Regions from separate parts of the Homo sapiens genome. Here region 2 is linked to region 1. Evidence: promoter capture Hi-C in human tissues and cell types (Jung and others, 2019). All regions are on one chromosome and are shown on one strand. Each heading gives the region's core, a stretch centred on a gene start or on the middle of the fragment in contact. The rest is flanking DNA. Distances are from core to core; before and after follow the strand shown.

The links. Contacts are between HindIII fragments. The study calls those that stand out against the background at their distance.
Region 2: a fragment that was not itself captured here is called in contact with the fragment with the promoter of IFI6 in region 1 in 2 of the 25 tissues and cell types used here (hippocampus and mesenchymal stem cells).

Annotation. Positions count from the first base shown.
Region 1 is chr1:27,669,605-27,676,781 of GRCh38, forward strand. IFI6 (interferon alpha inducible protein 6) reads right to left here and starts at 2,588. Exons shown (of 5, transcript NM_002038.4): 1 at 2,519-2,588. It also overlaps the pseudogene RNU6-949P. RefSeq lists an enhancer at 2,620-2,959. The HindIII fragment of the contact is 16,144 bases long and covers 1-7,177 here.
Region 2 is chr1:27,801,230-27,808,406 of GRCh38, forward strand. It overlaps STX12 (syntaxin 12), which reads left to right. Exons shown (of 9, transcript NM_177424.3): 4 at 449-586. Among named protein-coding and RNA genes, the nearest start is that of PPP1R8, 26 kb to the right of the region's middle. RefSeq lists an enhancer at 5,962-6,485. The HindIII fragment of the contact is 3,705 bases long and covers 2,365-6,069 here.

The DNA.
Region 1 (7,177 bases), core at 1,338-3,837:
AATATCATGACTGTGGTTGTTCCTGGCCTTGTACCCAAGTGACCTTGGGCAGGATACTAGGGTACTTTGCTTCTCTGGGCTTCAGTTTGTTTATTTCTAAAATTGGGGTATTAATAGAGTCTATTTCAGAGGGTACTTGTTAATTTAATAACTGTTCCACGCTGTATCCCCGGCACTTTGAACAGTGCCTGACGCATAGAATTTGCTTTAAAAAAATTTTTAAGACAAACTCATTCTTACAATGCATTGAATATCTACTGGCACCAAACGTTGGCCTCACATCAACTTAATTTTTTTTTCAGAAAGAAAGCACAGAAGGGTGTGTGGAAAAAGAAACTCAGTTTCCCTCACCGTACGAGAGGCTTCTGACAGCAGAAGTGTGGGGGTTTCTCCCCACCAGCAAGCAAACAATCAGTCCTCTGGTGAACACCAGCTGAGGGTCCCCAAATTCAATTCTGACACCACTATGGGTAGATAGTGGCCGATCCCACATGTTGAGGGTTCAGTCCCCCAGACTGCCAATCGAAAGCCCTAGGTTGTTTTACCTGTGTTTCTGACTGACTATAAACTGGGGTTCCCACAATTCCCTCCTGCAGTTTTACTAATTTGCTAGAGCAGCTCACAGAACTCAGGGAAACACTTTACTTACATATACTGGTTTCTTTCTTTAAAAAAAAAAAATTGATCTTGTTGTTGTTTTGAGACAGGGTCTCACTCTATTGCTCAGGCTGGAGTGCAGTGGCCCCATCTCAGCTCACTGAGACCTTCGCCTCCCAGGCTCAAGTGATCCTCCCACCTCAGCCTCCAGCATAGCTGGGACTACAGGTATGCACCACCACGCCCAACTAATTTTTTTTTTTTTTTTTGAGATGGGGTTTCACCATGTTGCCCAGGCTGATCTTGAACTCCTGAACTCACGCAATCTGCCTGCCTCAGCCTCCCAAAGTGCTGAGATTACAGGCATCAGCCACCATACCCAGCTACATTTACTGGTTCCTTATGGATATTACAAATGCTCCGGATGAAGAGATGCATAGGGCAAGGTATGGGAGAAAGGGCATGGAGTTTCCATTCCTCTCCAGAAGCACCACCCACTGGAGACCTCCTTGTATTCGGCTATCTGGAAGCTTGTCAAACCCTGTCCTTTTGTGTTTTTATGGAGGCTTCATTACATAGGCATGACTGATTAAATCACTGCCCATTGGTAATCAGCTTAACCTTCAGCCCCTCTCCCCTCCCCAGAGGAAATGCCAGCCATCAGTCAACTTATTAGACAGTTATCACTCAAAAGATATTTATCACTTTGAAGATTCCAAGGATTTTAGGAGTTGTATGCCAGGAACTGGGGGATGAAAAAATATATTTTACAATATCACAAGGGATAAAGGTCACACAGCAAATTGTGCAACATGGGTACACATTCAAGACAGTCAGAATTCATGAACCTATGCTCTTTCCTTTATACCACAAAACTGGAAAATGCATATGCCCTCAGACTCACCTCTAATATGATCTTTGTCAGATCAATGCTATTTTCTTAAGTTAAAAAGAAAAACAAGAAACTCCTCTCATGTATTGAGTACTTAGCACTTTATGGCACGCAGTCCACTTGTACCTATAACAACACCACGAAGTAGGTACCATTGTTATCAACCACATGTTATAGATAAGGAAACTGAAGCTCAGAGAGGTTAAGTAATATTCCCAAGGCTGCCTAGCCAGGTCATGGCAAAGTCAGGGTTTAAACCCACAATTGGCTAATACCCAAGCCCACATTTTTTTTTTTTTTTTTTTGAGATGGAGTCTTTCTCTGTCGCCCAGGCTGGAGTGCAGTGGCGCAATCTCATCTCACTGCAAGCTCCACCTCCCAGGTTCATGCCATTCTCCTGCCTGCCTCAGCCTCCCGAGTAGCTGAGACTACAGGCGCCCACCACCAAGCCCGGCTAATTTTTTTTGTATTTTTAGTAGAGACAGGGTTTCACTGTGTTAGCCAGGATGGTCTCGATCTCCTGACCTCGTGATCCGTGGGTCTCGGCCTCCCAAAGTGCTGGGATTACAGGCGTGAACCACCACGCCCGGCCACCAAGCCCACATTTTTAACAACCACTCCAGATGGCTTCATCTATCCTTAAAGATGAACTCACTGTCACATTGGATCCTATAATAAAGGGGATTCTAAAATCATCCAGTCCTTTGAGCAGCAAAGGCAACTTAACTTTCCTTTTACAGAGGAAGTAATTAAGGCTCCAAGAGGTGACAGTGTTAAGGCCACAGATCGCTGATATTGCACCTGTAAGCTGGGTCTCATGCCACTTGGGGTTTTGCATCCCATCTCCCTAAAAATCTCCAACCCATCCTCTTAGACAAGTCCCAGCCCAGAGCACTAAAAGGGACCCAGGAGTGCTGCCTCCCAGGAGAAGGGGCCTCCTGGCTCTCAGAACATGAGATTTACAGGCAGACAGGCAGCCTGGCAGAGGGTGGCAGCTTGATGCCCACACTTCATAGCTCCTGAGTTTACCTTGGAGGAGAGAAGAGAAGCAATCTTCAGCCCGGAGCCTGCTGATAGATGGGCACAGCAGCGAGTAAACGGTTCTCCGGCTGAAGGCTGGCTTTTTATCATCACTTGTGGATCCTCCCACGTCTCACCCTAGGCAGCCAATCCCTGTCGGAGTTTCTATTTCTGCACTCTGCAGTTTCATTTTCCCCTCTCTCCCAGCTCCTGCACTCTGCAGAGTTTCATTTTCCCCTCTCTCCCAGCTCCGCCCAGCGGGAACATTTGTGTGCTGCCTGCTGGCAGAAAAATGCACTTCAAGCTGAGGACTTTTGGAGCCGCTAAGGGTATTCAAAGCATGTCACACTATGATGAGAGCCACGGCCATACTGGGCTTAGTGAAGCCTGATCACCAGCTCCCCCTGGGGCACACAGGCCTTTCACCATTCAGTCCAATTAGTAAACAACACCTATCATTTATTGAGCACTTGCTGCATGCCAGGGTCTGTGCAAAGTGCTCTATTTACATGATCTTTTTCCAATCCCACAGTAGTCATGTGACATACCATATGCTGTTTATAAACCCCCAGAACTTTGGAAATTAAGTCACTTTGTTCCATTGTTCTCTCAGGCTGGCTGCTTCTGGGTCATGGGCATATGGTAAGACCAGTGAAGCCTGTGTTCATGTGGCCATCATGATAGATCTTGAGTTTCAAGATGGGTCCCCTGGCCCTAGGTAATGAACTGAGCATTCTTTAAAGCCTTTGGATGGTGATGCTTGAAGTGCTATGGGTCAGAAATGCAACCTCTATTTGGAGAACATAGAAATTCCAGTAAGGATGAATCATTGCCTTCTCCCAAGTGGAAGGGGTCTGAAATAATTGACCTGCCACCAGATGGCTGGCTATTCTCATTGAGAAATTTTGCCATATTGCTACCTGCTGCTGGCAGATTGGCTATATTTTGGCAATTGCCAGATCAGTTTTGGTGAGAGGGAGCCCAAGTTGTTGGACTCATTTCTAACCCCCATCCTTACCACCTTGGACACTCATAGGTCTATTGCAAGGCAATAGTGAGGCTAAGTTTAGAGGCTGGCTGACATCCACAGGATGGGACATCCTGGCCATTGGGCTGTAGAGCCTCCTCTGCAGCAGATGATCTCTGGTCAGCATTAACATGAGACATAGAGATCCAGGTGCTTTATGCCCATTCAGAGTTCATTCTTATGCCCCTAACCCACACCTGCTTATTCCCAATCTTCCAATCTTGTTCCATCCATGCCTTTGACCAACCAGCCAAGCCATTTGCCTCTTATTAGGAATTGGTGTATGTCTGTACTTCAGTCCATCTCTCTCTCTCTCTCTCTGCATACAGAGGGAACAACACGGTATACTGCTCCTAGTTCTGCCCCCTGGGAGGATTCACTATTATTCAGTGCCACCCCCAAATGGGGCTGTAATAGAGTGGTCCGTTTCCAGCTGATACCAAAATATTATACTGACTTATCTGTGAATTGAGTTTGACTCCTTTCCTCCATTATCTGTTGGTTGCTGGGAACACTCCATGAGGCCATATATATGGGTCAAAGAGAAAACCCAGAGAAACAGAGTTGGGCGCCACAGGACTCTGAGCTCCCTGTTTATTTAATTTACTCAAGCCTTTTAGACCCCTTTGCTCAGCCTTGAATATACCATTTCCATCATATATTTTTTGTTTTGTTTTGTTCTTTGTTTTTTGTTGTTTTTGTTTTTGTTTTTGAGACAGTCTTGCACTGTTCCCCAGGCTGGAGTGCAGTGGTGTGATCTTGGTTTACTGCAACCTCTGCCTCCTGGGTTCAAGCGATTCTCCTGCCTCAGCCTCCCAAGTAGCTGGGATTACAGGTGCGCGCCACCATGCCCGGCTAATGTTTTTTGTATTTTTAGTAGAGATGGGGTTTTGCCATGTTGGCCAGGCTGGTCTTGAACTCCTGACCTCAGGTGATCCACCCACCTCTACCTCCCAAAGTGCTGAGATTACAGGTGTGAGCTGCTGTGCCTGGCCTCTTTGTTGTTTTGTCGGTTGGTTGGTTGGTTTGTTAGAGACAGGGTCTCACTCTGTTGCCGGGGCTGGAGTGCAGTGGTACAATCATAGCTTACCGCAGCCTTGACTTCCTAGGCTCAAGAAATCCTCCCAACTCACCCTCCCAAGTATCTGGGACTATAGGCATGTGCCACCACACCCAGCTAATTTTTATATTTCTTTTAGAGATGGAGGTCTCACTACATTGCCCATGCTAGTCTCCAACTCCTGGCTCCAAGTGATCCTTCTGCCTCGAGGTCTTAAAGTGCTGGGATTACAGGCATGAGCCAATGCGCCCAGCTTCCATCACATATGGAACTGCTGCTCTACCTTTCTGATAATACCCAACTTAAGATATATAGCTACCTGGCACCCAGTGGTGAGATGTGTAGTCACTACTGGGGCCCAGTGACACATCAGGGCCTCTTTTCCCAAAGGGACCACAGTAAGCATAGCCTTACTGCAGAATCCTAAGAATCCTAACCGTAATTCTCCTATGTGGGCTTTCAGAAACTTTCTACAGAATCTTTTTTCTCCCTCCCTACAGAATTGTTATCCACCTTCACACAGATACATCCAGCAACATTGTAGGATCATATAATCAGAAGTGGCAGCATAGCTTGTTTTGTGGCCTGAACCTGCTACACAGTTAAGAGGAAAGAAAAAAACCAAAATGACCTAATGTGCTTTTTCTTTTCTTTTCTTTTCTTTTCTTTTGAGACAGAGTCTCGGTCTGTCGCCCAGGCTGGAGTGCAGTGGCGCGATCTTGGCTCACTGCAAGCTCCACCTCCCGGGTTCACGCCATTCTCCTGCCTCAGCCTCCCGAGTAGCGGGGACTACAGCCGCCCGTCCCCACGCCTGGCTAATTTTTTGTATTTTTAGTAGAGACAGGGTTTCACTGTGTTAGCCAGGATAGTCTCGATCTCTTGACCTCGCGATCCCCCCACCTCGGCCTCCCAAAGTGCTGGGATTATAGGCGGGAGCCACCGCGCCCGGCCTGCGTTTTCTATTCTCTCACTGAACACAACAATCGCCACAGACCAGATGTGTGGGTGGGTTTTTTTTCTCACGCCCCAAGCAGCAGACACCAGCTGGGTGTCCTCCGATTCAATTTTTTTTTTCTTTTTTTTTTTTTTTGAGATGGAGTTTCACTCTTGTCGCCCAGGCTGGAGTGCAGTGGTACTATCTCGGCTCACCGCAACCTCCGCCTCCCGGCTTCAAGCGATTCTCCTGACTCAGCCTCCCATGTAGCTGGGATTACAGGCATGCACCACCACACCCGGCTAATTTTGTATTTTTAGTAGAGACGGGGTTTCTCCATGTTGGTCAGGCTGGTCTCGAACTCCCAACCTCAGGTGATCTGCCTACCTCGGCCTCCCAGAGTGCTGGGATTATAGGCGTGAGCCACCTTGCCTGGCCTCAATTCTTTTTTTTTTTAATTATTAAAATAAAAATATGGAACGCTTCATGAATTTGTGTATCATCCTTGCACAGGGGCCATGCTAATCTTCCCTGTATCATTCCAATTTTAGTATATGTGCTGCTGAAGTGAGCACTTTTTTTCTTTTCTTCAGACAGGGTCTCACTGTGTCACCAAGGCTGGCTCAATCACGGCTCACTGCAGCCTCGACCTCCTGTGTTCAAGCGATCCTCCTGCCTCAGCCTCCCGAGTAGCTGGGACTATAGGGGTGCACCACCATGCCCAGGTAATTTTTGTATTTTTTGTAAAGATGGGGTTTTGCCATGTTGGCCAGGTGGTCTCGAACTCCTGGGCTCAAGGGATCTGCCCGCCTCAGCCTCTCAAAGTGCTGGGATTACAGGCATAGGCCACTGTGCCCAGCCTCCAATTCAATTCTGACACTGTCTACCTGGAGAGAGCATCGATCCTACAGGTTGAGGGACTCCTCAACTCTCACCCTCAAGACACAAATCAGGGCTTCTGGAACTTCCGACTGGTTACAAGTTGGGATTCCCATAATCCCTTCTTTGGGTTTAATTCATGTGCTAGAGAGGCTCCTAGAGCACAGGGAAACACAGTTAGCAGTTTACTACACAGGAAATTAGAAAGGCTACATGAAGAGATGTGTTGGGTGAGGTATGGGGGAATGGGCACAGCGTCCTCCAGGAACATCCATGTGTTCAGCTATTGGGAAGCTCTCGGAACTCTGTCTTTTTGCTTTTTTATGGAGGCTTCATTACATAGGAATGATTGATTAAACCATTGGCCACTGGTGATCAACTTGACTTTCAGTCCCTCTCCCCTTCAGTGGGTGGAGCTGAAAGTCCCAACCCTCTAACCTTGCCTTGGTCTTCCCAGTGACCAGCCCCATCCTGAAGCTACCTAGAGACTGCTGGCCATCAGTCAATCATTAGTATACAAAGCATGGTGGCATACACCTATAGTCCAAGCTATTTGAGAGGCTGAGGTGGGAAGATTGCTTGAGCCTAGAAATTCAAGTCTAGCCTGGGCAACACAGTGAGATCCCATCTCTAAAAAATAAACAAATAAGAAATCATTAGCACACAAAAGGCATCACTTTGGAGATACCAAGGATTTTAGGAATTGTATGCCAGGAAATGAGGTATGGGGGAATGGGCACAGCATCCTCCAGGAACATCCATGTGTTC
Region 2 (7,177 bases), core at 2,967-5,466, 130 kb after region 1:
CTGTACTAAAAATACAATAAAAAATTAGCCAGGTATGGTGGTGGGTGCCTGTAATCCCAGCTCCTCAGGAGGCTGAGGCACAAGAATCGCTTGAACACGGGCGGCAGAGGTTGGCAGTGAGCTGAGATCATGCCACTGCGCTCCAGCCTGGGCGACAGAGCAAGACTCCGTCTCAATAAAAAGAAAAAAAAAAAAAGAAGAAGAAGTTAAATGCAACCCAGTTCCAGGTTTGTCAGAATGAAAGAAGAAAAATTCTGACTTGGTCTATAGTATTAACCAGGGACTTGAGCTAGCAAAGAGCAAATTTATTAATTTAAAGAAGAGACTATTTCATAATAATTTTCCTAGTTGGAAATCTTTAAGGGGTATAATTTTACTTTTAAGGGAAATTAAAACCAAATGATTCTGGGTTAATATGAAATCTCAAGTTCTTGCTTGATTTCCTTAGCGCCAGCAGAGACTTCAGAAGGAACGCCTCATGAATGACTTCTCTGCAGCCTTAAACAATTTCCAGGCTGTGCAGAGAAGGGTATCTGAAAAGGAAAAGGAGAGTATTGCCAGAGCAAGAGCTGGATCTCGTCTTTCTGTAAGTTGATTCCCAAAAGAAGACCTTTGCAATATCAGAATGTTCTTTTCCAAGTTTGTGGGTTTTTTTCTTTTTCTCTTTGACCAATAAACATGTAAGTTAGCTGCTGTGAAAATGGCAGGTTGGTGTAACCTATGTAAAAAACATATATGCATGTGATCAAAGCCTAGAAAGGAATCTGAATGAAGGTTAAGAGATATAGGAGGAAGAACTATGTCTAATTTTCTTTTTCATTTTGATATATTGGTTTTAACGTTAAAAACTTGAAAATAAAAATAATGAATCTGTTTCCTGGAATATAACAGGCTAGTTTATTTGGACTAGCCCTCTGTTTTTGAAAAGGATTTTCAAATACTGGATTTTAAAAATCCAACTTCTCAAAAGTATCAAAGATTATGAAAATATTAAGGTAAAGCCTGAGAGGTCAGCAGAATACTGAAACTGCTTTTGCATTGAATGTCTTTACTGAAGGCAAACTTGAACTTCAGTTTTGATATCCTCATGGCATGGGGAGGATAAAAGTCAAAGCCAAAGGTCCATGCAAGAGAGAGAATATAAAAGAAGGTACAACTCAAATTAAACTGGGCCCTAAGAGACTATATCCTTAGAACATTAAGTCAAAAGTAAGCTCTTCTATCCCCCGGCAGATTACAGAAAGATTGCATTAGCACTGAACTGAGCAGATGGAGGAGGAGGGCAGGAGGGAGGAGAAATCTAGACAAGGTTACCACAAAGTAACCTTCTTCAGGCAGATTTTCTGCTCAAATTCATCCTACCTGAATGGTTCAGTGGTCCTGGACTGGGAGAGCCACCTATGTGTGGGATAGAAGCAAACACAAATTCCTTCTGTAGAAAGACACCTTTATCCTAGCCCTGAAATAATACTCTCAAATAATTTTTCTAGGGCAGTAAGTACCAGTCACTAAAAATAACCATGTGTGCAAAGAAACAAATTACTCTGAACAAGAATTAGTAGAAACAACAATGAAGTGAAATATACCTACAAAGACTTTTTATATTAGAATTATAAGACAACTATACTTATTGTGTTTAAAGACATAAAAGGCTGAAAACCTCTGCAGGAAACTACACAAAGATTTGAAAAAGTGTCAAAAGAATTTCTAAAATGGAAAGATATAATATAGAAATTTAAAAACTTAGTGGATGGGTGGTTTAACTAAAAAATTGGTTAGAATATATTATCCAGCATGTAGCATAGGGGGTTAAGAGGTTAAATACGGAAGAAAGATTATGAAAAATGGAGAATGGAGAGAAAAGATCTAACGTAGTTTTAACTGGAGTTATAGAGTGAGAATAGGGCAAACATAGAACAGAGGTGATATTTGAAGAAATAATGAGTGATAATATTCTAGAACTGATTAAAAACACTAGCCTGCAGTTTCAAGAAGCCTAACAAATCCCAAGCAGGATAAATAAAATCTCTAATCTAGATACATCAAAGACAAACTTCAGACCAGAGACAAAGAGAAAAATCATAAAGATAGCTAGAGAAACATTAGAATACCTTCAAAGATACAATAGTTAGATTGACAGTTGACTTCTCAACAACAGTGGAAGCCAGTAGAGTGCTATCTTGAATGTTGATGAAGGACAATAACTGCCTACCTAGGATTCTAAACCCAGTGAAAATATATGTCAGAATGAGGGCTAATTAAAGACATTTTCAATCAAAAGAGAGTTTTCTGTCAGCACATCTTATTGAAGGAAATTCTAAATAATGTATTTCAGATGGAAGGAAAGTGATCTCAGATGGAAAGTCTGAAAAGCAGAAAGAAATGAAGAACAAAAAAAGTGGTAAAGATGTGAAAAGACTAGTCACAGGGAGAAGACATTGCTATATATATTTAATAGCAAAGGACTAGCATTTAGAATATATAAAGAATTCGGCCAGGCGTGGTGGCTCACACCTGTAATCCCAGCACTTTGGGAGGCCAAGGTGGGCAGATCACGAGGTCAGGAGTTCAAGACCAGCCTGGCCAACATGGTGAAACCCTGTCTCTACTAAAAATACAAAATTAGCTGGGCGTGGTAGCGCGTGCCTGTAATCCCAGCTACTCTGGAGGCTGAGGCAGGAGAATCGCTTGAACCAGGGAGACAGAGGTTGCAGTGAGCTGAGATTGTGCCCCTGTGCTCCAGCCTGGGCGACACAACAAGATTGTATCTCAAAAAACAAAAAACAAAACAAAAAAAACCCCAGAATTCCCATGAATCAATATGAAAAAGAAAGATACAACTCAATAGAACAAAAGTTGTCAAACTTTTTAATCTCAGGAACCCATTACACTCTTAAAAATCATTAAATTCTGTGGCCGGGCGCAGTGGCTCATGCCTGTAATCCCAGCACTTTGGGAGGCCGAGGCGGGTGGATCACCTGAGGTCAGGAGTTCAAGACCAGCCTGGCCAACATGGAGAAACCCTGTCTCTATTAAAAAATACAAAATTAGCCGCGCATGGTGGCGCATGCCTGTAATCCCAGCTACTTGGGAGGCTGAGGCAGGAGAATCACTTGAACCTGGGAGGTGGAGGTTGCAGTGAGCCGAGATTGCACCATTGCACTCCAGCCTGGGCAAAAAGAGTGAAATTCCGTCTCAAAAAAAAATATCATTAAGTTATCTTCTTGAATCTTAAAAAAAAAAAAAATTACTAAGGACCTGTATTAGTCTGTTCTCACTCTGCTATAAAGAACTGCCCGAAGCTGGGCGTGGTGGCTCACGCCTGTAATCCCAGCACTTTGGGAGGCTGAGGCGGGCAGATCACAGGGTCAGGAGTTCAAGACCAGCCTGGCCAACATGGTGAAACCCCATCGCTACTAAAAATATAAAAAATTAGCCGGGCATGGTGGCAGGTGCCTATAATCCCAGCTACTCAGGACGCTGAGGCAGGAGACTCGCTTCAACCCGGGAGGCGGAGATTGCCATGAGCTGAGACCGCACCGCTGCACTCCAGCCTGGGCAACAGAGTGAGACTCCATCTCAAAAAAAAAAAAAGGAAGAAAGAACTGCCAGAGACTGGGTAATTTACTTTAATTTATATTGAAGTATTTAATTTATATAGGAAAGGGGTTTTGTTGACTCACATTTCCACATGTCTGGGAGGCCTCAGGAAACTTACAGTCATGGTAGAAGACACCTCTTCACAGGACCGCAGGAGAGAGAATGAGTGCGGAGAGAAGGGGAAAGCCCCTTATAAAACCATCAGATGTTGTGAGAACTCAGTCACTATCACGAGAACAACAAGGGGAAAACTGTCCCCATGCTTCAGTTTTGTCCATCTGGTCTCGCCCTTGACACGTGGGGATTATTACAATTCAAGGTGAGATTTGGGTGGGGACACAGAGCCAAACCATATCAGACCCCAAAGAAGTTTTGTTTATATGAGTCATATCTATTGATGTATACTGTATTAGAAATTAAAACTGAGAAAAATTTTAGATGTTTGTTTATTCATTTACAAATAATACACTTATTACATATTAACATGAATATAAATTAGATTTTTTATGCACATGGGGAAAGAAGGAATTAAATTAGATTTTTCATTTTAAAAAATTGTGTTTCCAAGAAAAAAAATTAGTGGGCAGAGTAGCATTATTTTCATTTTTGCAAATTTTTTTTATTTTAATGTCTGGCTTACCAGAAGGCAGCTAGATTTTCATAGCTGCTTTTGTTTTTTAACCTCCATACTAAAGATGTAAATGATTTATATAACACCATTACAGTATTAGAATATTCTGAATTTGACTATTTACTTACTTTTACCAGTGAATGTTATACTTTCATATGTTTTCATGTTACTAATTATTATGCTTTTCATTCAGCTTGAAGAACTCCCTTTAGCACTTCTTGTGAGGCAGGTGTAGTGGTGATGAACTCTCTCAGCTTTTTTCGTCTAGGATTATATCTGCTTCTGTATTCAGTCTATTATGATAGATTGTTCTGGTTGAAGTATCTGAAGAAAATCCAAGCTAGCAGAAATATACAATTGGAAAAGGAATATTTTTATAACCTTGTTGATACTCTTCTTTGATACTACATCAAAACTTGACAAAAGTTAGTTGCATTGTACAATCTAAAACCATTATAATGACTTCATACTCTGTTACATTAACATCTGTTGGTCTATATTATACTTTGATTGGATCTTTTATCCATGCATGATTTTTATAGCATCATGTATTTATCATTTGGATAGTATTGGTTCCCTGAGTTATGCAGCTCTTCCAAATGTCGATACATTTCATTTTACAATATAAAAAAATACATATTTCCATCAGTTTCACCAGAAAAGTATTTAAATATTGGGAAACTCTTACAATGGTAGATACAAGTCTTCCGAAATTTTATTTTTATTTTTACTTGAAAGCTACATTTTTGTCATTGGCAACAAACACCCTCTGTTGTTTTCCTTGAAGTGACAGGCTCATACTTCTTTTCAACAAGTTGTCTGCCAAATACCCATCTGAAAAGTTTATATGTATACGTTTATGAAAGTTTTAAAGCTTTTAAATAAGTTTTTAGTAAGTTCTTATAAAACTATATTGAATAAGTAAAAATGGTATTCCCTAAAAAAAGTGGCTAGTTCAGCCTGCAGTTCCATTACACAAGTGCTTTTCCTAGAGACAGACATTGTATTTCTTTATGCAGCAGAAGTACTTTATGTGCACTTCCCATTTCACAATACAGAATAGTAGAAAGATATGTATTGAGGGGTCAAGGTTTAATTAATAATTTGTATGGCTTCAAGAATACATTGGCTTTTAAAATACGGTGAGTGTGTGGTGATGAAGAATACAATAATACTAGTGCAATTCGGTGCCACTGCCTTCAGCCATTTTATCTATCTGTATTAGTCCATTTTCACACTGCTATAAAGATACTACCTGAGACTGGATACTTTATAAATAAAAGAGGTTTAATTGACTCACAGTTCTGCGTGGCTGGATAGGCCTCAGGAAACTTACAACCATGGTAGAAAGCTAAGGGGAGGCAAGGCATGTCTTACATGGTGGCAGGAGAAAGAGAAAGAGAGTGCAGGGGAAATACCAGACACTTACCAAACAACCGGATCTCATGAGAACTCCCTCACTAACACGTGAACACTAACACCCCCATGATCCAATCACTTCCCACCAGGTCCCTCCCTTCGCACGTTGGGATTACAATTCGAGACGAGATTTGAGTGGGGACATAGAGCCAAACCATATCACTACCATTGCCTTTTTTTAATTTTTAATTTTTGTGGGCACATGGTAGGTGTATATATTTATGAGGTACATGAGATACTTTCATATAGTCATGTAATGTGTAATAATTACACCATGGTAAATGGGGTGTCTATCCCCTCAAGCATTTATCCTTTATGTTACAGACAATTCAATTATACTCTTTTAGTTATTTTTGAATATATAATTAAATTATTATTGACGATAGTCACCCATTTGTGCTATCAAATACTAGGTCCTATTCATTCTTCCTATTTTTTGTGCCCATTAACCATCCCCACTTCCCCGCCACCAGTCCCCCACCATTGCTTTTGCTCCGTCCTGTTGATATTTACACTCATGGAGCAAATAAACACGTTAGTATTATTTTGAGTAATGGTCAAACAAATGAAAAGGTACTCAGCTTCTTTAGTAATGGTGAAATTACAGATTAAAATAACAATGAAATACTATTTCATGCCCACCAGGAGGGCAGAAGTTTAAAATTCTGTGAACACTGGGAGTTGTCATTATGGATATGATGCAACAGGAACTTTTTTATCTGGCCGGTGGTATAAGTTAGAACAACTACTTTGGAAAACATTTTGGCTGTATCTTCAGAACACATGCAGACCTTGTGATCCAGCAATTCTACCCTAGAGAAACCTGTATGTGTTATACCAGGATGTATGTACAAGAATGTGCATAGCAGCATTGTTTGTAGTAGTCAAAAATTGGAAACATCCAGATGTCTGTCAACTGTAGAATGGATAAATTGTGTTATGTTCATATACTATAATATCATACAGCAAAGAAAATGATTGAACCACAGTTACATTCAGTATCAGAGATGGATCTGGCATAATCTGGAATGATTCAAAAAAAGCACTAAAGAATATAAACAGTATAATTCCATTTATGTAAAGTTCAAAAACAGGCAAAATGATATTGAATAAGAATATAGCTCACTATTCTTAAAATGCAAGAAAATGATTTTCACAAAGTCAAGATAATAGATACTTTAAAAGGGAGGGATGGAGTTGTGATTGGAGAAGGGCACATGAGTAGGCTTTTAGGACTCTGGCAATGTTATTTCTTGATCTGGGGAAAAAGATAAAGTAAAAAGAAAAAAACAAACCAAAAACCCACAGTGTTCCTCTGAGTGGATAGAAATTTGAAATTCTTTTCATTTTGCTTGTCCTGTATTGCTATTATAAAAAGGGTAAGCTTTTTAAAAATGAAAATACATTGATTTTTACCATTTTTGCTTTGTTTTTTATTTATTTATTTATTTATTTATTTATTTATTTATTTATTTATTCTGAGAGGGAGTCTCACTCTGTCACTCAGGCTGTAGTGCAGTGGCACGA